Linked DNA regions of Homo sapiens: all the other regions are linked to region 1. Evidence: promoter capture Hi-C in 16 types of primary human blood cells and fetal thymus (Javierre and others, 2016). All regions are on one chromosome and are shown on one strand. The core of a region is centred on a gene start or on the middle of the fragment in contact, and the rest is flanking DNA. Distances in the headings are between cores, read along the strand shown.

Region 1 (3,796 bases), core at 1,014-3,513:
AAAAGGACTTTGTCAGCATGGTCCATGTCTGGACTTTAATTATAATAGGGTCCTCTAAGCATCTCACTTTAAACGTCCATTTCCATAGAATCAGTAACTGCATTTATTTTACAACTCAGTCTTTTAGGAGGTATGGTTTGGTATTTCTGGCATTGCTGCTGTAGTCTTCATAAACACACACACGCACAGACACACACACACACACACTCTTCCACTTAGAGGACAGATATGTTAACCATATTTCCAATTTAGTAGCAAAGCTCTGACATCCTAATGTCCTGATATTATTTCAATCTCTCTCTATTGTGAGAAAAATCAGAAACTGCCCAGTGAGAAAGTTGTATCATCTTTCCAGCAGATCTCTATGAACACGGCTTACCCATTGCTTGGAGATGGGTGTGTTCAGTGCTGCCCCATGGAGGAGAAATCTAACTGTGTGAAGGCTTCTCAAAGCTGATCCACATCTTGACAGGGATTATTTGTTCCTCACTCTCCTATCTCTCTGCATTCAGCTCACTTGGGGTAGAGGCTGAGCATAGGAGAAAAAGCTTGAAGAGAAGCAAAAGGAAGGGCTTCGGGGGCGCCAAGCAGTTTCTGGCCTATAGTGTTTATTATTTGATTCTATAAACATTTATTGAAACTACAGAATATTAGGTATTGTCCCAAGCTCTGGGAGCAGAGTGATGAAAAAAATAAATGAAACGAACAAACAACTCCCCCCACCAAACAAAACAAAACAAAACAAAACAAAACAAACCCAAAGTCCCTGTCCTCATTGGCAAGGCTTATAATGTGGTGGTCAAAGGTTTGAGGAGTGAAAGGATGCCTAGATGCGGGCAGTGACAGCAGGGGTGACAGCTGGGGGTACATACAGCTTCCTGGTTTGTGAAACTGTTAAGCCCCGACTTAACCCAAATTGATTTCACTGTCCTGACTTTGAGATTCCAGTCTTTTTGCATGGCAAATGTAACACTTGTGTACAAGCATTCGTACACTGCTTTACTTAAAATGTGATTTTAAAGCGCCCTCAGGGAGAAGGGCTGGGGTGTCTTGATGGGCTGGCTCTGGGCACCTTTACCTTTGAACGGCTCCATCAAAACCTTTCCGAGAGAGCCGCCAGGTGGCACCTGTAAAGCGCAGATGGGGAGAGTCATTTGCCCCACACCCTACACAGCCCGGAATAACCAGGGTGCGTGCTTTCCCCTGTGGGCTTGTTAGGGGCTAGGAAGTGGGGGAGTTTTAGTCTCCGTCCAGACTGCTTGCTTACATACCCCGTTTTCCTGATACCCCAACACATTCAGGGCGGATTTGTCCCCACGCACCCGGGATATCAAAGGCATGTCATACGCTAGTTGGGAGCATCTCGGCCTCAGTCACCCGCCGCGACGTGGGAACTGGCGGTGGGTGGCCGAGGGCTGCTCTAAGCTGGTCTCCTCAGCCCGACCTCTGCCCGGGGCAAGGGGGAGGAGGGGCAAGAGACAGGGGTCCCAGCGCGGCTGCAGACTGGGGTCCAGCAGGCGTGAATGGATGCCTAGACGCAGGCAGTGACAGCAGGGATCCCAAGCCCCTTCCAAAAACCCTCGGTCTAGGGACTGCGCTGCCATAGGCCGGGGTCTGGGGCGCTTTCTTCCTCCCGCGGGTTCTTTCTCTGTGGTTTCTCCTGCCCCCGCAGCAGCGTGGCGGCCTCGGGTCCCCCCTCGTCGCGGTAGCGGTGATCCCACAGCCCAGTCTGGGTGGGCGACCCAGCGGGCAGAGGGGCCGCAGAAAGGGGTCGGGGTACGGGGTGTGAGCACACGGAGCCAGCGTGGTAATTTCGGGGTGGGCAGCCGGGCCACCATCTCCGCTCTATCAGTAGCGGGAAGCGAGCAGCGCCAGTTGCGCGACTGTCGCTGCCACGGCCGCCTCTACTCGGTCGCTGGTGACATTGGGAGGAGACCGCTTGGAGAGAGCAGAGGAGGAGGAAGAGGAGCGGGGAGGGTGGGGGTTGGGGTGGAAGAAAGTAGCAATTGTGCCAGGGGGCGTGTGAGCAGCCGGAGAGCCAGCCGCGCTGGTGACAACTTCTCTGGGGCGCGCGCGGGGCTGGTAGGCGAGGAGCGAGCAGGGAGCGCGGCCGAAGCCAGAGGCTGGGGGAGCTGCTGGAGCCTCGCGAAGCCGCGGCCGGCGCCCTGCGCCGTCGCCGCCGCCTGCTAGTTTCCTCCGGGTTCTCAGCCCCGGGTACTGAGGCTTCGGTCTATAAATAGCAGGTTACAGCTCCTCCTGGGCGCGCACACGCTCACACGCTCGCAAGCGAACGCAGGAAAGTCAGGCTAAAAGTGTCTGCTGCTGCTGCCGCCCCCCACTCCGCCTCCGGGAGAGGTAATTACCCGCCTGGGATCCTAGGGCTCGGTGGGGGAATTTTGCAGGGTGGGGTGGTTGATGGTGGGTAATCCGGGAGGCGAGGGAGCGTGTCTGAGAGCGTGGCGGCACGTCTTGGAGGGGGGAGCCTGTCTGTTTTGCATCAAGTTTCTCCGTCTTGCAGCCTCCATCACCCCTCCAGCTCTTTAGCTTAAAGGGTGGGGTGGGCTGTCTCTCCTCGGCTGCTGGGGTACCCCTGTCACCGCGCCTACCCTCTCGCCGAGCGCCCCTCTGCCCGGCGCGCGCGCGTTTTCGCATTCTCACTCACACACGCACACTCTCCGGGCCCCCGTGGAACTCTGAGCTCTGGCCTCGCTGACCTTCCAAGGCTGCGCCCACCTGCGCTGTCCCTGAGAGACGCTGAGGTTGGCCCGGGCACTCGCTCTCACTTCCAATCCTGATGATCGCAAGCTGCCGCCGCCGCCGCCGCCGCCGCCGCCGGCCTGGGAAGAAGTCCTTAAGGAATAGAGGCAGTGGTGGGGAGTGAGGGTGACTGATGTTGGTGGTCCCGGTTGCCTTGTTTTTTGTTTTAAAAATAAAGAGCCCATCTCCTTGACCACCTTCATCCCACCCTCAACAACTCATTCTGGCAGAGAAGCCTGGCATGTCTTCTCTCGGCCATCAGGCAGCATCTCTTGTCCTTCCCCAAAGAGGTCTCGCTGAGAGGTTAGGGCCTTGGCGCAAGAGTGCCTGGGTTTGGACGGGGGAGGTCATTGTTTCGGGTCTGAGAACTATGCTGCAGGCTCCTCAAGCTCTCTGGCGCTCAGGCAGGGCCCAGGGCCGGGGAATGTCTGGGAGCCTGGTTCCTGAATGTAGTTTCAGGCTGGTAGCTGATATGAAGATGAGGATGCTAGAACCACATATACCTGTTTTTCCCCCTCCCCACGCTTCTGAATTCTCCCTTCCTTGGGGGCAGTAGTTTCTGCTCCTGGGGAGTCGGTGGAGAGGGGCCCAGCAGTTTCTCTTTGGGGACAAGAGGGTGAGGAAGCACATATTGATTAGGTTGTTGCTGCTGCTGCACAAAACTTACTGGAAAAACCCGGTAGGGTTTTCTATTACTCTTGTTTTAAGGATGTAAATTTACTCCTTTTCCTCTTTTATCTTCTCCCTAACCAGAACTAGTTTTCCTTTCTCTTTCTGGAATGTTATTTGAGGTCATTATATTTTATGACTCCAGATGTTACATTTTGCATATCTCCTTCCTGTCAGTATGACAGACAGAACTTGTTTATAAAGGTGTGGCTCTGTAAGTAAAAGCCTAAAGACAGAGGATAAATTCATCTTCTCTCTCTCAAGATGAGCTCCAGATAGTTCTTTTATAGGTGTACAACTACATTTCAAAGACCTTGCTTGAAAAAGGACTTTTCTTAATGAGTTCTGGACCAGAAATGGTAGTAATCTG
Region 2 (3,837 bases), core at 257-2,756, 690 kb after region 1:
TTCTAATCCTTGTCAATTTCTTTCCAGACAGAGCTTTTTGTACATGCCTTCAAGGATCAACTTGTCAGGAGTGCTCTTTTAGCACTCTACACTGCAAGGCCAGGAGGCATTCTTAAGAAGCCACCCTCTCCTAAGAGCAGCACAGAGGAGAGCAGTCCCCAAGACCAACCCCCAGTGATGAGAGGGCAGGACTCCATACCACATCATTCAGACTATGATGAGGAAGAGTGGGTAAGTCTCTTGTATATCGCTTGCCTCTCAATGTTTGGCAATGAGAAATAAGGTAGGAATGATCAGATAGCTCTGCTTTCCATTTTAAAAAATGGAAAAAAAGTTATAACACTGATTGTGGATAAATAGGCCACATTTTTCCTTAGGGGCAATTTTTTTTTGGAAGTTGAAATCCTGATAAAATTTATTTGCTAGCCAATGAATTATATGTTTAAGTGAGAATCTGTCATCCAAGTAAAGATGCCACAGTTACAAGACTCTTATGTTTCCTTATTTATTGCCAAACTATATAAAACATGAAAGTTATTTTTTAGAAAAAGAATAAAAAACCCTCCATGTTACTACTACTTAGATGCAACAAGTATTTTCATTGTTGCAATCCAGTGTTTTGGTTCTGGAAGTACTTTTTAAAAGTATTCACATTTAAACGACAATAGACATAGATATCTCGCAAATCCCTCTCGCTCAAGGTTCTATAATGTAAGATGCTGCTCTAGGTGCTCTAAAGTTTACAGAAGAATGGCCTCATAAAATGATACGAAAAAATAGCTAGGAAACATGAATAAACAAAGGAAATAAATATGGTGAGAGAAATTCTAGTTGGGCCGAATATGATGGGAGAAACGTGAAGGTGTACCATGGCAGAGGAACAGGGTGTTATTACTGAATCGATACATATAAATTATTCAAGAATTCTCCAAAGTATATGCATATTACACACACACACAAAGGGAAATCTATTACTGTATCATATGTTTAACAAAAAAAATAGTGTGCTAGCTGTATTAGATGTTAAGCTTTTAGTTAACAATTACTTTTCTTGCCACCCTAGAATTTAAGAATGGGGAGTAAATTACTTGAAAGGCACAGGCCTCTCAAAAAAAAAAATGTTATCTGAAAGGCTGTGAGGTGATGCCTGCTTTTTCTTTTGGTAAAATTTCTATCACAAAAATGACAGAGGTGGGCTCCAAGAGGTAAATGCTGAGTGTTTGTCGTTGGTGATTAAAATTGCATTTCTCCCAATGAAGCATTTTCAAAGAGCAAATCTAATATTTCTTTCTCCCTTTTACCTTCACCTTCTTCACTTTTTTTTTTTCACAGTTCCAAGTGTACACACCTCTTAACCTCTGAAGTTCAATTTTCTCAACTGTAAAATGAAAATAACAGCACGTGTTCTGTTAGCTCTTAGAGTGGTCATGAAATCAATGATTTACCATGTTACAATGCTCCATTTCCTGGAAATGCCAAGGCAAATGCATTATATTACTTTAGTATTATTGTTATATGTTTCTTAAGTAATATAAATTATATAATCTTATTAAGAAGATTAATACTATCCCTTGAGATAAGTGGGGAAATTAGATATGTCATACAATGTGGATTGTGAATTTTGAAGAGTTCGAGTGTATACAGAAAAGAAGATATATTTTATTTAATAAACATCCAGTGTTGACCTTTTGACAAATAATTACCATTTTATATTAAATCAAGTGAGAATCTTGGAATTTTTCCCCCTCATTTTAACTCACTATGTTTTACAAACCCTTCCCCCTCACCTTGACCCCCTCTTCCTGTTGAAAATAGTCCCTCTCCTTCCTTGTTTCCTTTTCTTTAGATAATTTTTGAAACCTTTTATTAAGTATTTCAAGTGGGAAGGTAAGTAATGTTAGATCCTTAGTTCTTGGAGCTCAGAGTCTAGTGATAGATAAAAATATGTAAACAAATAGTTACAACATTTTGCAACAAAGCTTAGAAAGAAACATGATAGAAGACAGTTTCTGCTAATATGACTTCAACTCAAAATTTTACGTCCAGAACTGTCTTATGATGGGCAAAGACGGAAGAAAGTGGGGACTGTATCATTAGTTGAGAAGGTTTACAGAGCACTATTCCCTTCAGTCAGTGTTACTGAGTACCTGTTCTGCCTTATTCACTGTGCCACATGCTGGGGACAGCAGGTGAACAACGTTGGCCCTCAGTTACTCCACAGCCTATTCAGGGCTGTAGAAAGACAAATAGCAATCGCAGTGCAGCCTTAGAGATGTACATGGGATACAGCAAGAATGTGGTAGCCATAGTGGTGTTGCCAGAAGTAATTCTGGAGATTTAAATCTGAGTATAAGTTAATCATTCAAGAAAGAAGATGTGGTGCCCTTTTAGATGGAGCATAATAGCTGACATACAGAGAGAGGTAGTTAGTGTGTGTGTTTGTGCCTGTGATTATTATTAGTTATTTACATGTTTTGTTTTAAAGTGAGTGAAATTTGAGCATGTTATATTCCAAAGGCTATGTGAGAGGCACAGAGGTGATAACTGATGGAGCAAGGTCCTTACAAGAGAAGGAAGAAAGTCAACGGTAGGGTCCAGGTGGAAGAGCAGGCACTTCTCCTGAGACTGCAGGGAGGATGTGAAGATGTGAGGGTGGGTGGGGCTGGATGGCTGCTTTTATCCATAAAGTAGAACCATGTGCTAAGAGAAAAAGACGGGGAGGACTGGAGGGAGTGGTGAAGGTTTCAAATAGGCACCGAAGAAATGAGTACTTGAGCTAATGAGTAACGTGAAAAATTTGAGAATAATTCCAGGCTTTGTGATGGGCCAGCCAAGGCTGGAGTATCAGGTGGCATGGTTGTTTGTTTAGCATTCATTATTCTTTTGGGAATATTTTCTAGTCTTAACACCAGGAAAAAAGTCTTTCTGATTCTTTTCTCCAGTTGATGAAAAGCTGTCATCTCAGTTTCTCTTGTTGTCCTTCAAAGGCAAAAGGATTGGGCAATAATGAAGGGCTGCATTGCTCTCTGCATCTCCTTAATGTCATTTCTAAGCCTCCTTCTGAACTCATTGTTTCTGGAAAGCATATACAAGCTTTGCCTAAATTTACCATAATTACAAGAAAAATCTTTCCCACTCAGAAAAGTTACTTCTAATTCTCTCCTTCTAATATAATTTTACTCTTTTTGCAAACAAGAACCGAGTTTGTTTGGTATATAACATTTTCATTGATTTTCCTTAGCAACCGCTTTCTACTGAAAACATTCCTTCATCAGAGGATAGAAATCCCTTATAAAAAGATAGAAACAATATTTCACCAGAGTCATAAACACTAACATTATTCTCAAAGCTTTATCTAACTTTGATAAATTGAGTAAAACTAAAGAAAATGTAGCTAATTGAAGATGCCTTTAGAGACTGTGGTATTAAATGAATTAGAAACATAACTTTGTATACTCCCTTTTTTAATTAGTTGTTAGAAAAGTTTCAGTGCTGATTACAAGTCTAGTCAATGCTGGTAGTAACTCAGCATTTTAAATTAATTCAATTGGGTTTCTGTGATATTATGTGAAGATATTCCCTGATCACTTAAATTGGCTTACGTTTGCAAATAAGGTTACAGTAATTCCATTAAGCATTTTTTGTTTGTTTTACTTAATTTCTGATAGTGACTGTAATAATTACCTGACTTGAACAACTGTATTTAGCTTCTTATAATAAGTATTTGGGAAGCAAATAAATGGTGTTAGATTACACTTAAATCCTACCCGGCTGATGCAGGTAAGAACCATTCTTTTGAAGTCAAAAAAGAGAATCCTGCTCACTCTAAATCACTAT
Region 3 (3,906 bases), core at 336-2,835, 660 kb after region 1:
CATTTAGATTGTTTCTAAGTTTTTGATTAGAACCACCTGCGCTTGCAAGGTATATCCTTATTCATATATCTTTGCAAATTTCTAGGTGTTTCTTCTAGATAAATTCCTACATTTAGTATAACTACACTTAGTTAAGAGGACTTCTTTTTTTTTTTTTTTTATGTTTTGAGATGGTGTCTTGCTCTGTCGCCCAGGAGGTAGTGCAGTGGCGCAATCTCGGCTCACTGCAAGCTCCGCCTCTCAGGTTCACACCATTCTCCTGCCTCAGCCTCCCGAGTAGCTGGGACTACAGGCACCTGCCACCACGCGCGGCTAATTTTTTGTATTTTTAGTAGAGACAGGGTTTCACCGTGTTAGCCAGGATGGTCTCTGTCTCCTGACCTCGTGATCCACCCGCCTCGGCCTCTCGAAGTGCTAGGATTACCGGCATGAGCCACCGCGCCCGGCCAAGAGGACTTCTTTCTTAACTAAGAAACTAAGATTTCTTAGTTAAGAGGTAGTTAAATTTTAGAAGTAATACCACCAAAAAGTTGTATTAATATGCATAATATGCCTAATTTCTCATTCAGTCTTGAGTACTGAGTTTGGATATTATTCACGTGTGAAGTAGAAGTATGGCTGATGAGATATATATATATATATATATACACACACACATACACATATATATTTATAAATATATATCTAGCAGGTAGCTCCACTTTACTCATATCTTCCATACACCTCAAGATTGAGATATTGAATCATTTTGCATCCCTTTGGCTCTCAAACTTGCTTCTTTTGGGGGTTATTTTCCTTAATAAAAAGGTATGACCATCCACCCCACTGTTCAATGTAGCACCTGAAAATCCTTGACAACTTTTTCTCCCTTGCTTTCACTTAAAATTAATTTACTTTCTTATATATCTGGAAGTTATGCATTTTAATAATGAAACATGGGTTAAGATAATCCTAGCACATAGAACCACTGTCTTTTAAATATTCTACTACCAAACCTCTTAATTACCGTCCTTCCTTCCAGACTGGCTCTCATCCAATCAGTTATCCTTATCTTGGTTGGAATTATATTTCTTAAAGGCAAATATTCTTGTGTTTCATAATTTTAAAAATTTCTTTGCTGCCTCTTGCTTGCAGGAGAAAATCTAAGGTGCAATAATATATACATGTGTTCTGGCCATGGTTTCTTCTCCAGCTTCATCTTGCACCATGACACCATCATCTTTCCCTCCCCTCTACCCTCCATAGTGAACCAGAAGAGAACTTTCTCACCACCACAGATCTTAACTTAAAATCATTTCTGCCTGGAAGCTTCTTCTGACTCCTTGTCTAAGCCAAGTCTGCTTTAAGTCTCCAGTGTACAAAATCCCTCTAGACTGTATGTGCTCTGAGAATATGAAACATGTCTGTCCAGTTTACCACAGTATCCCCAGGACCTAACTTGAAAAGAGTTTGATGAATGGATATATATATGGGGGAATGAATGAGTAACATCAAAGTGTTGCCTGCCATAAGAATAAAGGGAAGAACCAATGACTATGCCTGCAGAAGAGATCAGTGTGATAGAATTAGGTAGCAGACACAGAGACTTTTTGTGGAATTAGGAAAAAGAAACAGAAACAAAAAGACACTTGTGGAAAATGTCTTATAGGCTTTGAAAACAACTATTTGGCAGGTATAACATTAGTGTTTCCTTGCACCTCACTAGCTAGGGAAAATATACTTTTACGTCTTCCGAAAGAAGAAGGGAGACAATTTATATAAAGATGGCTAACTTAAAAACCTGATTCAATATCAGTAATGCAATAGTGACTTTAACACCTCCAAGTTGTGACATTCTTCCAACAACCTGTCCAAAAGCTTGTGAGGCAAAGAATGATCTGATATTTAGGCAAGAGGCACTATATATAGTGTGACAGTTCAGAATTTTAAAAAATTGAATATTTATTTTAAAGGAAATGACTTTAATTGTAAATGACAAAATGTGTTTGCTAAACTGTCCCCAAATTTTTAATGATATCAAATTTGGTGAAGAAGGCAGTCTGAAAATGACAAAATACATAACCACTCTTGGATTTTCTTGTCTTCACTATAGCTGTGGCTACATGTGTACACCTAGAGATATATCAGAAAAAAAAATCAACAAGAAGATTAGGGTTTAAAAGTAAAAATGTTAAGTCTAATATGAAAATTACAGAAAAAATACATTTTGTCTGTTTATTTTTAAAACTAAATATATAAAGATAATATGATTTGAGGATTTATTTTCTGTAAATTAGAAGTTACGTTTCTCCTTTGCTGCAAACTGAAACAACATTTTAAACCATGACACAGTATGTTATCTCAGAAGTATTCACTGAATCCAAGGAGGAACTTTTGAACTTGTTAAACTCCAAGTGATTTCCAGAATATTTTTAAAGCTGTCTGTTGTTCTAGATATTTAATAGTCATCATTGCAAAGGCAGCATACAGCAGAAAAGTCATCTATAAATAAATTGCCAGTCATCTACAAATAAAATATACTATATTTTTCAGAGCTTTGAAAGCTAAGTGTAGAACATCTCAAACTTTAAAAAAATGTACATATGGAATTTATGTCATGGAAAAATCAAACACTTGGCTGTGTTACATGATATAAATACTGTTATTGCAAGATCTTTATTAGAGGGGACTTTGCCTGAATTATTTCAATGTCCTCTTCCTTGTGATGAGGCTTACATTAATAATTGATTATTGTGGTAACCCCATCAGAGAAGGAAGATGGATTGGCTTATAGTGTCAGCACAGATGGAGAGAAGATAAATTACAGAGGTATTTAGGGGCAACTTGGGGGTTGTATGTGTGTTAGGAGTGGAGGTAAGAACCCAGAGGTATCAAGGAAGACTCCCACATACATCTGGGGAATGATAGTGCCATTCACTGCCCCTTGGCTTATAAACTCCAGCAACACAGAGCAGCTTCTAGAGTGTAGGAGAGTATGAAAGGACGTTAGGCTGGGCAGGGAGCAAGGACCAAATCTTAAACAATTATTTGCTATGTCAGCTCCTGGCAGTTCACCCTATAGGCTATGGATACTGCAATTGGTAGGTTTTCAGCTGAAGATTGCCGTGATCATAGTATTTGGAGTGACAGTGTAGAGAGAACAGAAGAATGGCAAACAATTAGACTATTATAATAGTTGCATGAGGGAAAACAGGTACCTGGGGAGTTGAAGATTTTAAGGAAATATCTAACAGAATTTACATCCAGTTGGCTGAGGGCTTGAGGGAGCCTGGGCAGGATTGAAGGACTCTTAGGTTTCTGGTTTCTATAACCGGGTAAATGCCAAGACAGCTGAGAAAGGGGATACAGGAAATAAGCCATTCATTTCCATTGCTTAATTAATAAGGTCAGTTGTTTATACTCCATTAAAGAGACATTTTGAGAAATAAGAAAATAATCATGTTGAGTCCGTGCTGTTTTTCACATTAAGAATCTTTTTTTTGTTTGTTTTTTTTTTTTTGAGACAGAGTCTCGCTCTGTCACCAGGCTGGAGTGCAGCGGCGTGATCTCTGCTCACTGCAAGCTCCGCCTCCCGGGTTCAAGCAGTTCTCCTGCCTCAGCCTCTCAAGTAGCTGGGACTACAGGCACCTGCCACCACGCCCGGCTAATTTTTTGTATTTTTTGTAGAGATGAGGTTTCACCGTGTTAGCCAGGTTGGTCTCAATCTCCTGACCTCGTGATCCGCCCACCTCAGCCTCCCAAAGTGCTGGGATTATAGGCGTGAGCCACCGTGCCCGGCCAAGAATCTTTTAAATCATAGAACTTAGAGAGGATCCCAGAGACCATGAATTCTCCTACTTATTTTATTGATGAAAATACCAAGGACCAACGATTGAGTCACCAATGCAGCTAATGACAGAACCAGAG
Region 4 (3,649 bases), core at 604-3,103, 630 kb after region 1:
CCCCCAAGAATTTAAATAAAAAAGATAACAGGATTTGAATTCCTAGGAAGTGAGTACATGTCCTGAATCTACCATTTACTGGCAATGTGGCATCAACGAAGTCACTGTACTTCTCAGTCATTTGTGTAGAGTGATATTGTCCAAAAGAACATTCATTGATGATAGAAATGCTCTGTATTGTACCATCCTATAGGATAGTCATGTGGCTACTGAACATTTGAAATATACCTAGTACGATTGAATTTTTTATTTTGTTTGGTGCAGCTGTGGGGCAATGATCTCAGAAGATTGCTATGAAATCAAAGGAAGGGATCTTTTCTATGCAAAAGTAACCTTGATTATCAAAAGGGATAACACCTGGAAAATCTTATGGTGTCCACTAACCAAACAAATTTGACATAGAATATTCAATAGAGCCTGGTGTTTTCCTTCTACCTACGAAACTGGACAACATCCTCCGTCCAAGTCCAGGGTTAGAGGAATTTAAAGGGGTGGTATCCAGAAATGTTCTCTATTTCTGAAATTGTGGGCACAAATTATTAAAATGTGATGAGAATGCTAGCACTCTGTCTTGTTTAAACAGCTTTTAAGTACGTTTCATAACTTCCACGGCTACTTAGAATGAAAAGGCATGTAATGAACATATGTGGATTTGTGAGAAACCTTTGCACAATGCAACTACCACTGCTTTAGACAATAAGTGGAGCACTAAGCTTTAAAATACTAAAAAATAAATGCTGGCCATGTTTAATAACTTTAAAGCAAACTGTGAAGGGTAAACTGATGTTATTTAGAAGTAAATAAATACCAATTTAACTTTATCAACAAGAGCAAATAGATTCTTAGTCTGGAAAAAGACATACTTATTGTTCTTCATTTTTTTCTAATGCAGTTACCTAAAATTAAATTATAGAATCTGGCTGTTTATCAGATACAAACAGATTTTGTGATTGCAACTAAATCCTGTAATAACTGTGTTCCAACTGTCAGTCTTTGTATATAACTTGAGGCTTTATTGTGTATATAGTACAATAAGCAGTTATTTTAACTTCAAGTGAAAATCGGAGTGAATGACCACTTGGAATATTCAGTTGTTTTTCCCTGAAATAGTGGCTCATGGCTTGCAACATTAACCACATTGTCATTTATAAGAATGTATTTTAAAAAATAGGCCCGTGATTTATGGATGCAATTTTTATCCATGTGTGGGTTAAAGCACAGATATTTTGAATTGTAGGCTGAATATACTGTGAAACCTGACATCCAGTTGAACTTTGCTCAGTTTTATGGTGTCACCCAACCACTTTATGAAATTGAAGCCACCTACCAGTCATTTATGTAGTCTATTCTTCACTGACTATTTAGTATTTAATTTTTGTCCTAGTGAATAAATTTTTTATGACTTCTTTTAAGTTTGATTTAAGGTCTAATTTTGTTTAATGAATGAAAGCATCTTGGCTGTTAAACTTTCTACCCATGCATACCATGTGTAGTTTTACTGTGTAATAACTACCAAAAGGCTTTATTTAAGTTCTACAGCTATTTTTATTTTTTAAAATGGTATTATAGAGCTCATTGTGGAAAAATATTTCTATTTACTTAAATTATAACAGTCTCAAATAACACTTTTATATCTCTCATACTGGGCTATATCCTTTGCTGTATACATTTTTATCAAGCTATTTTGTCTTACGACTTTTCCGTAAATGAATTATCTATTATTTTCAGATACTCATTATTACAATAATTACCTTCCATAATTTCTGACATTTTTGAATTTATATACCCAGATTTTTAAAGTTTACCAATTTTGGTTCTCACTTCCAATATCATAGGTGCTTGCACACAGAATGTTGGCCTCAGAACTAAAGAGATTTCTTGTGCATGTCCCTTAGACAAGTCGAACATCACTATAGTTGTTTTTCTTTTGAACAAGTCAGGAGAGTATTTGTAAAATGTGGTAGGAGGGATAAAAGCCCATGGAAGAGCCTAAACTATATTCTAGATGATTTTCTTCCATCTCCCTCCCACCATCACCAACTGGCCTGTCTCTCAGCTGTTTATGCACTAAGCAGAGAGAAATCAGTGTGATGGAATCCCAGCATAGTTAGTGTATGGGTCAGGGTTCCAAAGAGAAACAGAATAGAACACACACACACACACACACACACAATTTATTAGAAAGAATTGGTTTACATCATTATGCAAGCTGACAAGTCCCAAGATTTGCAGGGTGAGTAGGCTAGCTGGAGACCCATTAGAGCCAATGGTGTAGTTCCAGTCGAGTGTGTCAGTCTGAGTCCAAAGGCAGGAAAAAAGCAAAGTCTCAGTTTGAAGGCAGTCAGGCAGGAGATTCCTCTCTTACTTGGGGGAAGTGTCAGTCTCTTATTCTATTCAGGCCTCCACCTGATTGAATTAGGCCGACCCAAATTAGAGAGGGCAGTGGGCCTTATTGAGGCTACCGATTCAAATGTTAATCTCCCTCAAAAATCTCCTCATGGAAACACTCAGTATACCGTTGACCAAATATCTGGGCACCCTGTGGTCCAACCAAGTTGATATGTACAATTAACCATCACAATAGGAAATGCCATATGAAGATAAATTTTTCAAATCTTTATCCCTAAGGAAGACTTGCTTAATCTAGGATTACAGACCTACATCATGCAAGGGTAGAAGACCGAACCATGTCTCATTTCTCCATTGAAACTTGGCAGAGCTTAGCACTATACTCTAGGGTTAGTCTATATTTTGACTTTATCCTAAATTTTAGGAAAATATAAGAACAACAATCTGCAAGCAAACTTCATTTATTCAGTCAACAAGCCCATCTCAGATACTTCCCATGGGTAGGAGACTGCGGTTGGACAAAAAGATGAATAAAGCTAGTCTCTGCCACTCACAGACTCAAAGCACATTTGCCCCATGTTGGAAATCCCTCCTTGAATATATCATCAGTGGGCTTTAATGCTATGTTTTAAATAGAAGCTTTAAATAGAGCTACAATTTTCTATTTTGGTGATCTTAAGCCTTCTGTTTCTTCTTTTTTTGTTTTTGTTTTTTTGCCCCAGTAACGTTTATTTTCCAAACAGAATTGTACACAGAATTCCAATGTAAATTAAAGGGATATAATTGGAGCTACTGGGTGGGTACAGTAAAGGAAAGAACCTGAGGCCTATTCATTTACTCGCCCTAATTTGTCCAACACTTTCTGGGTCCCTATACCTACAACAACCCCAGGGGTATAAGGAATAAAGTTTAAAAAATACTTATCTGTTTAATATTCCGGCCAATATTTTACACATTATATGTAACAAAATTAAAGCACATTTGGTTACTTTTCTCCCAGTTCTTCTATGATTCACTCTGTACTTAATTATTTCTCTTTATTCTTCACAGGGTTGTTTTGTTTTGGTTTTTAATCTCATTTTCTCTTCATGTTTTTAAATAGCTTGTGTTTTAAACATGTCATATAATTAGTAGGGTGTTCTACATTGTGGAAGGTTCGGAGTATATAATGACTTCCAGGAACTTGCAATTTTACTGAAAATAAAAAGCATGTGTTTTTGAAATATTTAAACACAGTAAGACAAAACGATCCATATAGACAAAAAGTACTTCATAAGGTTATTTCCAGAGATCTGTATGA
Region 5 (3,851 bases), core at 1,250-3,749, 720 kb after region 1:
TGTTTGGGAATTCTCTAGTAGAAACAAATCTCTACAGAGCTAAGCACAGAACAAAAGCAGTTTTCAGTCTGTTATCGTTTAAAATTTACATCTGGGTTAATTTATTGAAGTTTTTTCTAGTGTTTCCCTGTGTCTATTAGTCTACCCATTCATATTGAGAACAACAATTAAATAAAGGGAGAGAACAGGAGATAAAAATGCAAATATGAAAAAATAGGAATATAGGATATTCATTCTTGGTATCTATTGATGTATCTCTTATTATGAAAAAAAAGTTCAGTGTACCTCTATTTTCCCTTTTACACATGACAATGACATAAGAATCAACAGTTAACCAATGCTTGTTTAAATTGAACCATTGTTCACATTTTATTCTAGGCTGCCTATAAGTTTGTCCAATATTAAATGATCATGCATTAATAGGGCTCTGTTGCATTCCTCTTTCTTTATGCTTTTTATCCTCATAATAGCATGTACATCTACAATATTTTTAAAATAATTTCTAACATTCTAATGTATTTTACATTATGACATCACATAGGCATTTCATAGAGTATTACTAAGAATGTATCTTTTTATTATGTTGGGGCCATTAATTATCCTTTCAACCCTTTGGGTTTATTTCATCTAGTCTATTATACCACAACATAAAATAAATAAGTGACAGTAGACATGGTACGATAGTGATTGTGATTCTTTTTATTATTCTCTGTCACTCTTTCAAGGTCTTAACTGATTATTTACCACTCACATTACTCACAATGATGCTTGCACTTTTATGATGAGGAGATCATATCATTTCAGTTCCTGCTTTATAATTAATTTCGCAGCATGCACTCATTCATATCAAATCGTATTTGTCACCCATTAATTTATTTATATATTAATGGAATGTCACACGGTCAAGAATTTATGATAGTTAACATTTGCCAGGGCTTTGATCTCCAAATTAACTGAAACAGAACATAAATTGTTTCTATATCATACCAAAGTCATAATTATATAATTGATGCCTGTTAGAAATCTAGACATACAAATAGCACAAATGGTCTCAATTTTGCATCCTCATTTGAAGAACAGCTATTTGAATCCCAAATACTACCCAAAACTTGACTTACTTAAACTTGTCTATATCTTTAAAACTTTTTATATTTATTGTAACTTTTCTCATTCAATTAAAACTTATTGAATATTTACTATATGCTAGGCACTATGCTAGGTTCTAGTGATTCGGTGATTAAAAAATGAATTCCTTGCCCTCAGTGAGTTATCTTTCTTGCAGAGGAAAATGGTGAGTAGTGTGTGAGTAGTACTGGGACAGGAAGATACAGGCACAAAAGGAAGTCAGCTCAACCCAATCTTCATGGAATAGGGAAGTGTAGTAAGGGGGAAATGAAGGAAGACTTCCTGGAGAAGAGAAATCCTGAATTGAGTTTGCAGAAGAGATAAAGCATTTGTCAGGAAGATAAGTAGAAAAAGAGTGTTCCAGGAGAGGAGATAGGATTTTCAAAGACATTGAGATGAGAGAACAAGATAAGTTTAAGGAAATACATGAGGTTCAATTCACCTGAGACTCAAGACAGCAAATAAACTTCTGAAAGATGAGATTAGACAAATAGGCAAAGTTTAGATAATGGAGAATCTTTCATGAGTTTGAACTTTATTTATTTATGAATGCTTTAGTGTTTTTTTTTCAAAATATTTTAAGAAGTGAGGAGTGAGTGGTACAATCAGATACAAACTGATTATAAATGTTTCTGGCAACACTGTTGAGAAGGGAATTCAGTAGAGTGTGACTGGAGGAAGGGAGATGGGTTAGGGAGTAGTCCAGGAAGTAATCCAAGGGAGAGCAATAAACAACGATGGGCATGGACAAGGAGAAGATGCATATTGATGGACTGTTAAGAGTAGTAGAACTAATTTAATGACCAAGTTAATGTGAAAACTGCAAAAGAGGAAGTCCAGTAAAACTTCTGTTTCCAGTATGAGAAAGATTTGATGGCACCACTCACTAAGATACAGGTAGTGCACAGATTAGAGATGAGCAGAGAAGAGAGATCTGCTGCAAATATGTTAAATGCATCCACTTGGAGAGGTCTGATGGGTGGCTGCTTATGGACATTGTGGAGTTCAGGCGAGAGATTTAAATTAGAGATCTTCAGCTCTAATCTTTGTGAATCCTTAAGAATATGTCTAACTTACTGAAAAATTAAAAATAAGTTGGAAGTTGGTTCTGCATTATATTCCAAGACCTTCCTTCATCTATTGCACTGTTCTTACACCCCCTTCCCCCAGAGGACTGGTATGAACAGTTGTATCCCCTCATCCTTACCCTGAAGGACTGCATGGGAGAAGTGGTGAACCGAGCCAAGCAGTCCCTGACATTTGTGCTCCTTCAGGAACTTGCGTACAGCTTGCCCCAGTGTCTGATGCTGACGCTAAGAAGAGACATCGTCTTCAGCCAAGCAGTAGGTGCCTGTTGTTATTGTTAGTACAAAACAATGCCGGATTGTTAACATCCTATCCTTGATGATGAATAGAATTCTTATTGGGACAGCTTTATTTTTAAAAAGATCCTTAAAGTTTTGGTATCCCATGTTTCTTATTCACGATAAATATCAGCTGAATATCCTAAGCAAAGAGTTTATGAGACCTTAAGTATTTATTTCTGAAAAGAGATGGCCAAGTCTCTAACATGTAAATTCTGCTTCACAGGGCATGAAGTCCGTGAAGGAAGTGGTCATCATCTTTGTATTATGCTCTGGGATCTACATAAGTGTAAGGGAAGGGACTGTTGACTTGCACTCCAGGTGACAAGCTAGGACTTGGCAAAGGGGATCTGTTTGCAGTCGCTTATTTGTACAGCTCCCCCATGAATCCTGGGACAGGATTTCACAATTATCTCTTATTTTGTTTTTAAAATAAGTTTTCAGGGCAGTAAGGCTCGAATAGGAGGTTTGACAGGGCCACCTTCCTTGCCTACACCCAACATGATTCATAATGCCAAGGCCTGCCTCCATCACGGTGGGTGTGCTGGTGCCTTCCTTCTCCCCACCTGCCTCCATCCTCATGGCTGAGTTTTATAGACAGGACATATGGAGAGAAAGAAAAAGAAGACTTCTCTTTCTAAACATTCTAGGAAAAGGGAATATTTTAACCAAACTGTCGCTTTCCCCCACTATTTCATGAATGGTCCAGTGGCACATGAAGCTAACCAGGTGTCGGAAAATATGCTCTGCCTTATACATACATGTTTCGTCATTGTGTTCTTTTAATGACCCTGTGAAATGATTATTATCATCTCTATTTTACATGTACAAAAAATAGTAAGATTTGGAAGTGCTTAAGTGTTTATGAATTTACTGTTAGAAATGGTAGATATAAGATTTGAAGACCTATCAACCTTACTCCTGTCCATGTTCTTTTTCCCTTTGCACTTCTACCTTCCCCAAGACTTTTATACACAGCAATTCTAGATCAAAGACTGTCAACTTGTTTTACTATGCCTACCAAATAGTTGTAGTTTTGTTATACATACCTGATAATCGAATCTGTGATGCCTCAGAAGTCTTAAAATATTTCAAAATAAAACAAATACGTTTGCTAACTGCAGTAAATCTCATCAATATTTTTTTTTCAGCTTGCTGGATTGGTTTGTGGTTTTATCATCAAATTACAGACAAGTCTGTATGACCCAGGCTTCCTACAGCAGCTTCACACAGTGGGGTTGATAGTACAATATGAAGGACTGCTAAGTACATACAGTGAGTATTGCTTTAGTACAAGTTAAAATCACATTTCTATTCAGAAGGACATTTAATCCAGAAATTTTTCAAGAAAACATAAAAATA
Region 6 (3,971 bases), core at 1,286-3,785, 640 kb after region 1:
TAGCAGAAAGACTGGTTCTGGTCTTTGAAGAGCTAAGAAGAAAATATGGGAAAAGGCTAGATATCCTAAGAGCCACATTAATGGGAAAAGTACTGAATTGTATTGCATATATAACAGCATGCTAAATTATCAAGCTTATGTTTTAAAAATATGTAATATTAAAAGTTATTATTTGAAACTGGAGTTCAGATTAAGTAGCTGTTATGTAGACTAGGTCACCAACTACATGTTATAATACAGGTTGAAAACTCCATTGAAATTTTGGGTCCTTACCACTTACTACTTTGACTTTAACCATGTTATTTGACCTCTCTGAGTGTCATTTTATTATTTGCAAAATGAAAACGTTAAAAGTTGTCATAGGTGGTAGTGAATCAAATTTTTCTACTTTCTTTTATAACATGTATTTAACAGATTTTGGATTGCAGTTAAATTTATTTAAGTTTTGTGGCTACTGATTTGAATGTTTAGCTGAATTATTATTGCAAGGTAATAATGCAAGTAAGATGGGCTAAGCCTTGGCATTTTACTGGCAAGTTATTTGGATGTGGTCTAATTTTTTTTTTCATCTTTACCATTAGTAAATTGTGTCTATTCACATTTGATTAATAAGCCTGCTATATTTGGAGAGGAAGCTTTGCAAACAATAGCTGGCAGAGTCACCAGATACAAGGCTAATATGTAGCTCTTGAAATAAGTAACTGAGCAGAACTAATGTTGTCATGTCTCATACTGACAAATGGAATAACCTGCAGTTAACTTAGGGTGCCCTGAAACTCATTAAGTTAAGTTTTTCATCCTTATTCATTACTTAAACTAAATGCAACAAGTAGAATACTCACCACAATAGATCTTAGCCAGCAGTGACAAGAATGAAACATAAACCCCAAAATTCAAAACAAAAGTTTTTATACTAATATACTTTAATAAATTTTATTTTCACAGCACATCAGTTGTGAATATTATGGAATATAAATTCTTGTAATGTAATATTCTGTTTTATTTTATATGCTATAGATATACAATAGAAAAGTATTATATTTTGCTATAAAATTTAATGAATTCAAACTAAAGCAACTATTTTGTTTCACAGCAGACATAGTTTATGGATCTGTTGTAATCTATAGTACTAAAAGCCTTCTTTATATAACTGCATTATTAATGTATAGCTAACTCTAAGCATGAGTGTTTTGTAAATATTAGCTATATAGCTATGGTTTTACTTTGTGAGCCTGGTCCCTTTAGATATAGCTGCTTGAGTGATCACAGTGCCTGACACAGCATGTGCAAAAAAATAAAAAGAGGGTCTGGGGTGATCACTTCACCCAAGCTGAATCAATGGAGTTTCACTCGTGGATTCTCTTTGGGGATTCAGAGACAATCTCTCCTTCTGAATTTAACTCTAATTGTGTTCTAGAGAACCAAAAAGTGCTCATCTTTTCCGTGGGGAAGAAAAATCAGACATACAGTAATAAAGGAGACCACAAAAAGAGAGGAAAGGCAGAGATAGTCTCTCATGGCTTTTCAGTTCCTGATTTGAGCCCACAGGGAATGAATGGGCTTGCCCTTAGTTTGCATGAGTGAAACACACCTGTCAAGCACGGCCCCGCCCACTCTCATTGTTTTTGTTTGTTGTTTTTCAGATATCTCAAGTGGGATTCCGCAAATTGGTATGAAAAGAAGCTTAACTAATATATGTTTTAAAAAATGAGTTTATATCATAAAGCTGTAGGTGAAATCAGGTCCAACAGTAGCCAAAATTTACTGTGTTAACTATGGAGGAGTCAGCTAACCTCTTTGGCCTTTCATTTTATAATCTCTACATAGAAGGAAGGAGCAGAAGAGAGGAGCTTCTAGAGCTCTCTGATTTCTGTATCTCAAGAATGTGAGAGTATCACCTCATCAGTGAAGCATAATTATGTTAGATGTATTTAATAACGATGTCAAATTGCTTGGACTATTTTGACACAGATTTCCCTTAAAAATCCCTAAAGGCTTTTGCAATTCCTGCCAAAGACATATTACATGCCATTTTGAAATCAGGGATTATATTTAAATTGTTCCTTGATATGAGGTCAGCGTGTCTTCATTTTTGACATTAGCACTATTTTATAGTTGTAGGAATTTTAGAAAGATCTTCTGGGAAAAATAGAGTTATTATCTCATTTCTATTATTAAATGGCTTTTAAAAGGCTACAAGGCAGCCCTATTATTAAATCTCAAATCAATCTGGTGTCTTTAGTTTGACAAGACTCAACAACTTAAATTCTACTTATCTATTACTTTTTATCTATTACTTTGGATACTATGCAATTTTCACAAAGCCAAAGACAATTTTTGAGACACTATAAAATGTCAAAAAGGAAGACACATTTAAAAGAAAAAAAACTGTATTTTGTTTGCTTAAATTTTCTATAAGATATTCCCACTTAGATTTTTCTAATTGTCTCTTGATAACAAAAATCTGAAGACTTTTATTACACAGCTAAGGGCTATTCAAATCACAAAGATACATAAAGAATAGGATATAGCCATGGTAAAAGCTGTTCAAAAAATCGTAAAGAGCAGGGTACAATAAAAATATTTTTTAAATGATAATACGGATTTTACCGACCAAATTGTTACTTTAGAATTTTAATTTTGTTTTCTTATAGGTATTGTTACCTTAGAATTTTAATTTTGTTTTCTTATAGGTTATTTTTTTTTCTTGTACATTTTTTTCTCTTTGGAGGAAAACAATCAATTGCAGTTAATTCTAAATTTAAAGGAATACAACTGCCCCAGCTAAGAATGAACATGGTACTTTAAGTGTATACCATTCTTCATCAGCTGAAGAGACCAGGAAATAAATCACATGGTATACATAGATCAATCTATTTTGTAGTAGTTACAAGTGAAATTCAAGGCTGAAAGGGCCAAAGGAGATAAACCATGCTGTTTCACATTGAGATATTGGTAGCTGATAATTATGAAATGACAACTGCAAAATATTAAGAAGATTACCTAAGATAATAAATTTGCAACTTTCATAGAAAGTATTGGTATTTTAACAATTTGAGTGACCAGTTTTAAATGTGAGGGAAAATATCTCAATTAAAGTTAAAGATTACACAACTGTACAAAATGTTATTTCAGACCATGTGACAAACCTAACATACCCATAGCTGGAGAACAAAGCTGTTTCCTTTGGCTTAAATTCATGTCAGTTCTGAGAATAACATTCAGCAGCTACTTTCCAATTGTTTCCTTCAAAGCCACTCTTTGGCTATCAAAGTTAAAAGTTTAAAACTTAAAACAAGTTTTTTGAAGACCTGAAGTGTAAAAATGCTATTTAAAGCCAAACTCTTTGAACTTCTATAAAATATGCACACAAAGATTCAAGCTTTTTGAGGAGTGGTTAGAATCAGAATGCAATTGAGGAAATACAAAGACAGGGAGACTTTGCTTTATAAGTATCTAGACATAAACCATATCTAGTGTCTTAGTGGAGAAGACCTCTTGATATTAATGGAATATGATAGGTTGAAAATGCCTTTCTAGAATTTAGATAAGATGCTACACTTCTGCTAGCTGTGAGAGTTTGTCAATTTGAAATTTATTCTATGAAGTTCAAAACTGAAGAATATTTGGGGACTTTTACCCTATTTTTGCTCTCTAGTACTTTCACATTTGAGAACACATAAGTGTGCTTATTGTTTTTCAAATCTGATTGTTTTCTTGCTTATCAATATGTCTGTCTTAGAATTTCTTATCCCCAACCTGCTTTATTTTTTAACTTACTTTTATTGTGTTGTTTAAGTGATAATAAGTGATCAATAAAATTATAAAAAATGATAATAAAAAGAATGAAAAATAAAGAATAGAGGCAGATAAGGAAATAAATATGGAAGTATGTATACATAATTACTATAGGACACGTATTTTCTAGTCCTAGCTAATGAAAGGGAAAGCAGTGACACCATAGTAGCAGT
Region 7 (3,961 bases), core at 1,461-3,960, 700 kb after region 1:
TTTGATTAATGTTTGATTAATATTGACACAAAAACCAAGGCAAATGTCTACATCTCTTTACGGCAGTAGGAACTGCTGTTAGGGTTGAGTCAGACTTTTTTGCTGGGTACTTTAAGTGTTTGGAGAGAATAAGCAATACTACCCTACTCTCTTCTGCTGAAATCTGTTCTTTCTTTTACTTTAAAAAAAAAGAGTCATAAGAAAATACAAACATTTATAAAATTAGATTTATGTTTCCTCAATTTGTTTTCCTAATTTTTCATTACTCACATTTTTATCAGGAGTTTAATTATATAAAACATCAATCTTTCATCACTTGATTAACAGTAGAACCATTTCTAAATTATATTTGTAAGCTATGGCTTTCTAAAGTATTCTTGTTGTAGATGGTCCCTCTTCCTCTGTCATACATTCATATAGGCAAAACATTTATGCTAATGTTCTTTATGTTCACACTTACTTGATCTAACTGTATGTAGGGATTTTCTTTTTTAACAATACCAGTTTTTATTAGTTAATGAATCTTGTCTAGCTTCATAACTTTACATGAATCAAAATGAAAGCTTGTCATAGCTATGTCATGAAGAAATAGCATACTTCAATTTTCTTTAATTGAACAAATATTGATTATCAAGTATGGGCCAGACACTGCTGTCCTCTAGAAAATGAGGTAAGAAGAATTCATTTTAGTGACTATGTCCATTGATAGATTTTTTCAAGGCATATTATTTTTTAGCAGAAATAAGATAAGGGACACTGGATTTTGTTATATTTTTTGTTTAATGTTGCCAAAACTTCTCACTGAAGACAATAACATTCCAAAATATTTGAAATTATACAGTGTGTGTGTGTGTGTGTGTGTGTGTGTGTGTGTGTGTGTGTGTATCTTGTATTTCATCAGAAGACTGCATCTGGGCATTCAAAATGCATTTTAAAAGGTAAAATATTTGGCAGATAAATCAGCCGTAAGATTAGATGAATCATTTTTATTTGAATATGAGACATTGTGTACATATAGTCTAAAACCAAGTAGAAGTTGCTGCAGAAGTAGAATTCACAGCTAGATCAATGTTGTGGATGGTTAGAGTCAAACTACAACATATTGCCCTCTAATTTATTTTCTTATTTTATTATCTATGTTTATTTCACTCATCACCAATTCTTTCTTGTGTTAGAATTTTTTTAAGAGAAGTCACTATTTAAATGTGTGAAATATGTTACTTTTGTCTGAATATTTCCTCATAACCATTCTCCAGAACGCGTATTATAATGACTGTAAACGAATTCATCAAAATAGAAGCCATTATTTTAGATTTTTAAGTACTATCATAGTGCTGTAATTAACATATAAGCATCTTTGATTCTGTAAGTCTTTAACTAAATTTTATTTCCCCATAAGTTAGATTGTCAGAACTGGAATTATTTTGTAAGGAAGAGTTGCCCCCTCTCTCCTATGTATTTATTTATCCATTTTTTATATCAATGTGGACTCATGAATACTTATTTTATTTTTAACTTAAATTTTAATTATATTTGACACATAATAATTGTACATTTTTATGGGGTTCACCGTGATGTCTCAATGCATGTGTATGTGTGGGTGAACGGAAAGCTTCTCCTTTTGCCCTCTGAAAAGTTATTGAAAAATTAACTCATAAAAAGGCAGATTCATAAGAGAAAAGGAATATAAATTTATTGCTATCATGTGTAAAGGGAGAATCACACTGTGATTACCTAATATCTCAGTACAGATGCTTATATACCCTACATTTTAGGGGAAAGGGAGAGGAGAGGTAGTGTGGATGATTTTAGGAAGATAGTAAATAGTTTTTAGGATAATTTAATGGGCTTGAAGAACATACAGTTGTCTGTTGGGCCTGTTGGTTTGTGACAAAAATATGTCCAGGTTTGTTGACGACTTTTGTCTTCCTCCTGGGATATGGGTTCAGTTAGTAAAAAACCAAGGAGTGGATCACAGGTAATTGTTTTTTGGTGTTTTGCTTGTTTGTTTTTGAAGATCTGGAGTTTAGGCAGTTAAGGAAACTTCAGCCTGTGCTTTTGAAGAGGTAGAAGATTGAGAGACATGGGGCCGAGGCAGAGAAGAAACAACTCTTCTCCTTCATAGGTCTGCCCTGTCTTTATATGGATAGGGAAAAGTCTGTTCTACCATCTGTTGATCTCTAAGGGCCTGTAATTCAAAATATTCATTATATCAGGGAGCCATATTTTGGGGTAAAACTCCATGTGGTGCTTTATTCACATAATGACAACATCAGAGTAATTACCATATTCATCACTTTAAACGTTTATCATTCCTTGTGGTGACAACATTCAAAATCTTTTCTTCCTTGTTTGAATACTTATTTTATTATTTGGTTAAGAATCCAATACTAATATTATTTATTTTGGACTCAAGTTGTTCTCTCTTATTCAGATTGATTTCTGTGTCCTTCTGATGACATCCTCCCATATGTTGTTTACTCCCTTACTTTCTTATTTCCCTTACTCATTTTCTTACTTGTTTTACTCACTGACTTCCTCTTTGGCACCATAAGAAGCTCTAGGCTCATCTTATATTTTCCCTACCCCAGCTCCAGGTTCAGCCAATTTCTAAAGAAACCTGGTTTCATTTTATTGGAGAACAGCATTTAGAAATCAACATCTGGATGGATAGAAACATTTTCATGGTTCTCTATAACAAAAGACACTCTAACTAACAGGATCTAAAAGCAACCTTCTGATTACAATCTTTTCAGCCTTAAATATTTTCACTTATTTCCTGCCACTTTGGGTGAAAATATCATATTGTAATTTCTTGTTTCTGTGAAGTTTGACATTGTATAACATGTTACTATATTCCAAAATATTATTTTTGATAATAAAATGTATTTCTTCAATAGTCCCAAATTTATCCCAGCCCAAGCCATTTTGCTCCTTTCTTTTTTACAATTAATTAGTGAATTGATTAGGCAAGCAATTTGAGACATATAGTATTTATTACAATGTATGATATGATAAATACTGATAAGCATTTGTTGCAGCATCATTTGTTAGTGATGTTATTCTTCATGTTGTATTACTTCTGGTTTTTTGTTTATTAGATTCTGTATCTATTTTAAATCAAATTCTGGAATTTTGTTTTATTTCATAGGGTTTTGATTATTGTGATTTATGTTGGGATACATTTCTAAATTTGGAGTAAATCAATCCTATGACAGTTTTTCTTTTTCATCACACTCCTTTATTTTTACATTGTAGCTATAATTTGTGTTTGTTTTGCTGCTGTATACTTAACATGGCTAAACAGATGGTCATCTGGGTTGTGCTACTTTTATCCACTTTCTTATGTTGTTCTTTAACCTACAGCTATTTCTCTTTTCAAGTTGCAAATTTTCCTTTTAGTAATATTTTAAATCTGTAGTTTTGAAGGTTTTCTGTTTGTTTGAGAACCAAGGTTTTACAGTATATCTTTGGCTTGCTTTATAAATTTCTTTTTAGGGTAAATGCAGATAGTGCTGAGAGACATAAAACTTTCTGTGCTGTTCTGAAGAGAAATAATAGAATAACTATTCCAAAGTTCTACAGTTTATATATATTTATGTGGTTTCCTAATGAATGAAGATTGTCCTTTTATTTGTAGTACACTCAAATACCTTTCTAAGCATCTGCTGTCTGTATAGCACTACATGCCTTCAGTTTCATAAACTGCTGACTCAAAGATAAAATCAGTGAATATTAGAACCTTAGATTTTGACGTCATCTTAAAGATTATGTAATTAAACCTCCTAAAATATGTTAAGAAGCTTATCTACAATATCTCTGCCGGTTTTCAACTAGCCTATGAGGCACATCTTCAGTTATAGAAAACTCTTTTTATCTTCTAGAGCAACATACTCCAGACCTTGATCCTAATATGTTTTCTTTCATTGTACCCACTGGTCCAGATATAATCCTTTGCAAT

What was found. The method cuts DNA at HindIII sites, captures the fragments that hold promoters and counts their contacts. A CHiCAGO score of 5 or more calls a contact.
Region 2: a fragment that was not itself captured here is called in contact with the fragment with the promoter of INPP4B in region 1 in 7 of 17 cell types (naive CD4 T cells, activated CD4 T cells, non-activated CD4 T cells and 4 more); the score reaches 15.4 in naive CD4 T cells.
Region 3: a contact is called between a fragment that was not itself captured here and the fragment with the promoter of INPP4B in region 1, in 5 of 17 cell types (non-activated CD4 T cells, naive CD8 T cells, activated CD4 T cells and 2 more). The highest score is 11.6, in non-activated CD4 T cells.
Region 4: a contact is called between a fragment that was not itself captured here and the fragment with the promoter of INPP4B in region 1, in 5 of 17 cell types (non-activated CD4 T cells, activated CD4 T cells, naive CD4 T cells and 2 more). The highest score is 9.2, in non-activated CD4 T cells.
Region 5: a contact is called between a fragment that was not itself captured here and the fragment with the promoter of INPP4B in region 1, in 15 of 17 cell types (total CD4 T cells, fetal thymus, non-activated CD4 T cells and 12 more). The highest score is 65.6, in total CD4 T cells.
Region 6: a fragment that was not itself captured here is called in contact with the fragment with the promoter of INPP4B in region 1 in 6 of 17 cell types (non-activated CD4 T cells, naive CD4 T cells, activated CD4 T cells and 3 more); the score reaches 14.5 in non-activated CD4 T cells.
Region 7: a contact is called between a fragment that was not itself captured here and the fragment with the promoter of INPP4B in region 1, in 12 of 17 cell types (non-activated CD4 T cells, naive CD4 T cells, total CD4 T cells and 9 more). The highest score is 28.0, in non-activated CD4 T cells.

Annotation. Positions count from the first base shown.
Region 1 is chr4:142,844,768-142,848,563 of GRCh38, reverse strand. It overlaps INPP4B (inositol polyphosphate-4-phosphatase type II B), which reads left to right and starts at 2,263. Exons shown (of 26, transcript NM_001101669.3): 1 at 2,263-2,355. The region is part of intron 3 of USP38-DT (USP38 divergent transcript); the gene reads left to right. RefSeq lists an enhancer at 920-1,506. The HindIII fragment of the contact is 4,051 bases long and covers 551-3,796 here.
Region 2 is chr4:142,156,752-142,160,588 of GRCh38, reverse strand. INPP4B (inositol polyphosphate-4-phosphatase type II B) reads left to right here. Exons shown (of 26, transcript NM_001101669.3): 17 at 28-231. Among named protein-coding and RNA genes, the nearest start is that of IL15, 520 kb to the right of the region's middle. The HindIII fragment of the contact is 951 bases long and covers 1,031-1,981 here.
Region 3 is chr4:142,182,140-142,186,045 of GRCh38, reverse strand. The region is part of intron 15 of INPP4B (inositol polyphosphate-4-phosphatase type II B); the gene reads left to right. Among named protein-coding and RNA genes, the nearest start is that of IL15, 550 kb to the right of the region's middle. The HindIII fragment of the contact is 549 bases long and covers 1,311-1,859 here.
Region 4 is chr4:142,216,560-142,220,208 of GRCh38, reverse strand. All of the region lies in intron 12 of INPP4B (inositol polyphosphate-4-phosphatase type II B), which reads left to right. Among named protein-coding and RNA genes, the nearest start is that of IL15, 580 kb to the right of the region's middle. The HindIII fragment of the contact is 2,275 bases long and covers 716-2,990 here.
Region 5 is chr4:142,123,205-142,127,055 of GRCh38, reverse strand. INPP4B (inositol polyphosphate-4-phosphatase type II B) reads left to right here. Exons shown (of 26, transcript NM_001101669.3): 19 at 2,296-2,468; 20 at 3,641-3,764. Among named protein-coding and RNA genes, the nearest start is that of IL15, 490 kb to the right of the region's middle. The HindIII fragment of the contact is 7,020 bases long and covers 1-3,851 here.
Region 6 is chr4:142,200,439-142,204,409 of GRCh38, reverse strand. All of the region lies in intron 14 of INPP4B (inositol polyphosphate-4-phosphatase type II B), which reads left to right. Among named protein-coding and RNA genes, the nearest start is that of IL15, 570 kb to the right of the region's middle. The HindIII fragment of the contact is 1,699 bases long and covers 1,686-3,384 here.
Region 7 is chr4:142,141,146-142,145,106 of GRCh38, reverse strand. All of the region lies in intron 18 of INPP4B (inositol polyphosphate-4-phosphatase type II B), which reads left to right. Among named protein-coding and RNA genes, the nearest start is that of IL15, 510 kb to the right of the region's middle. The HindIII fragment of the contact is 2,191 bases long and covers 1,615-3,805 here.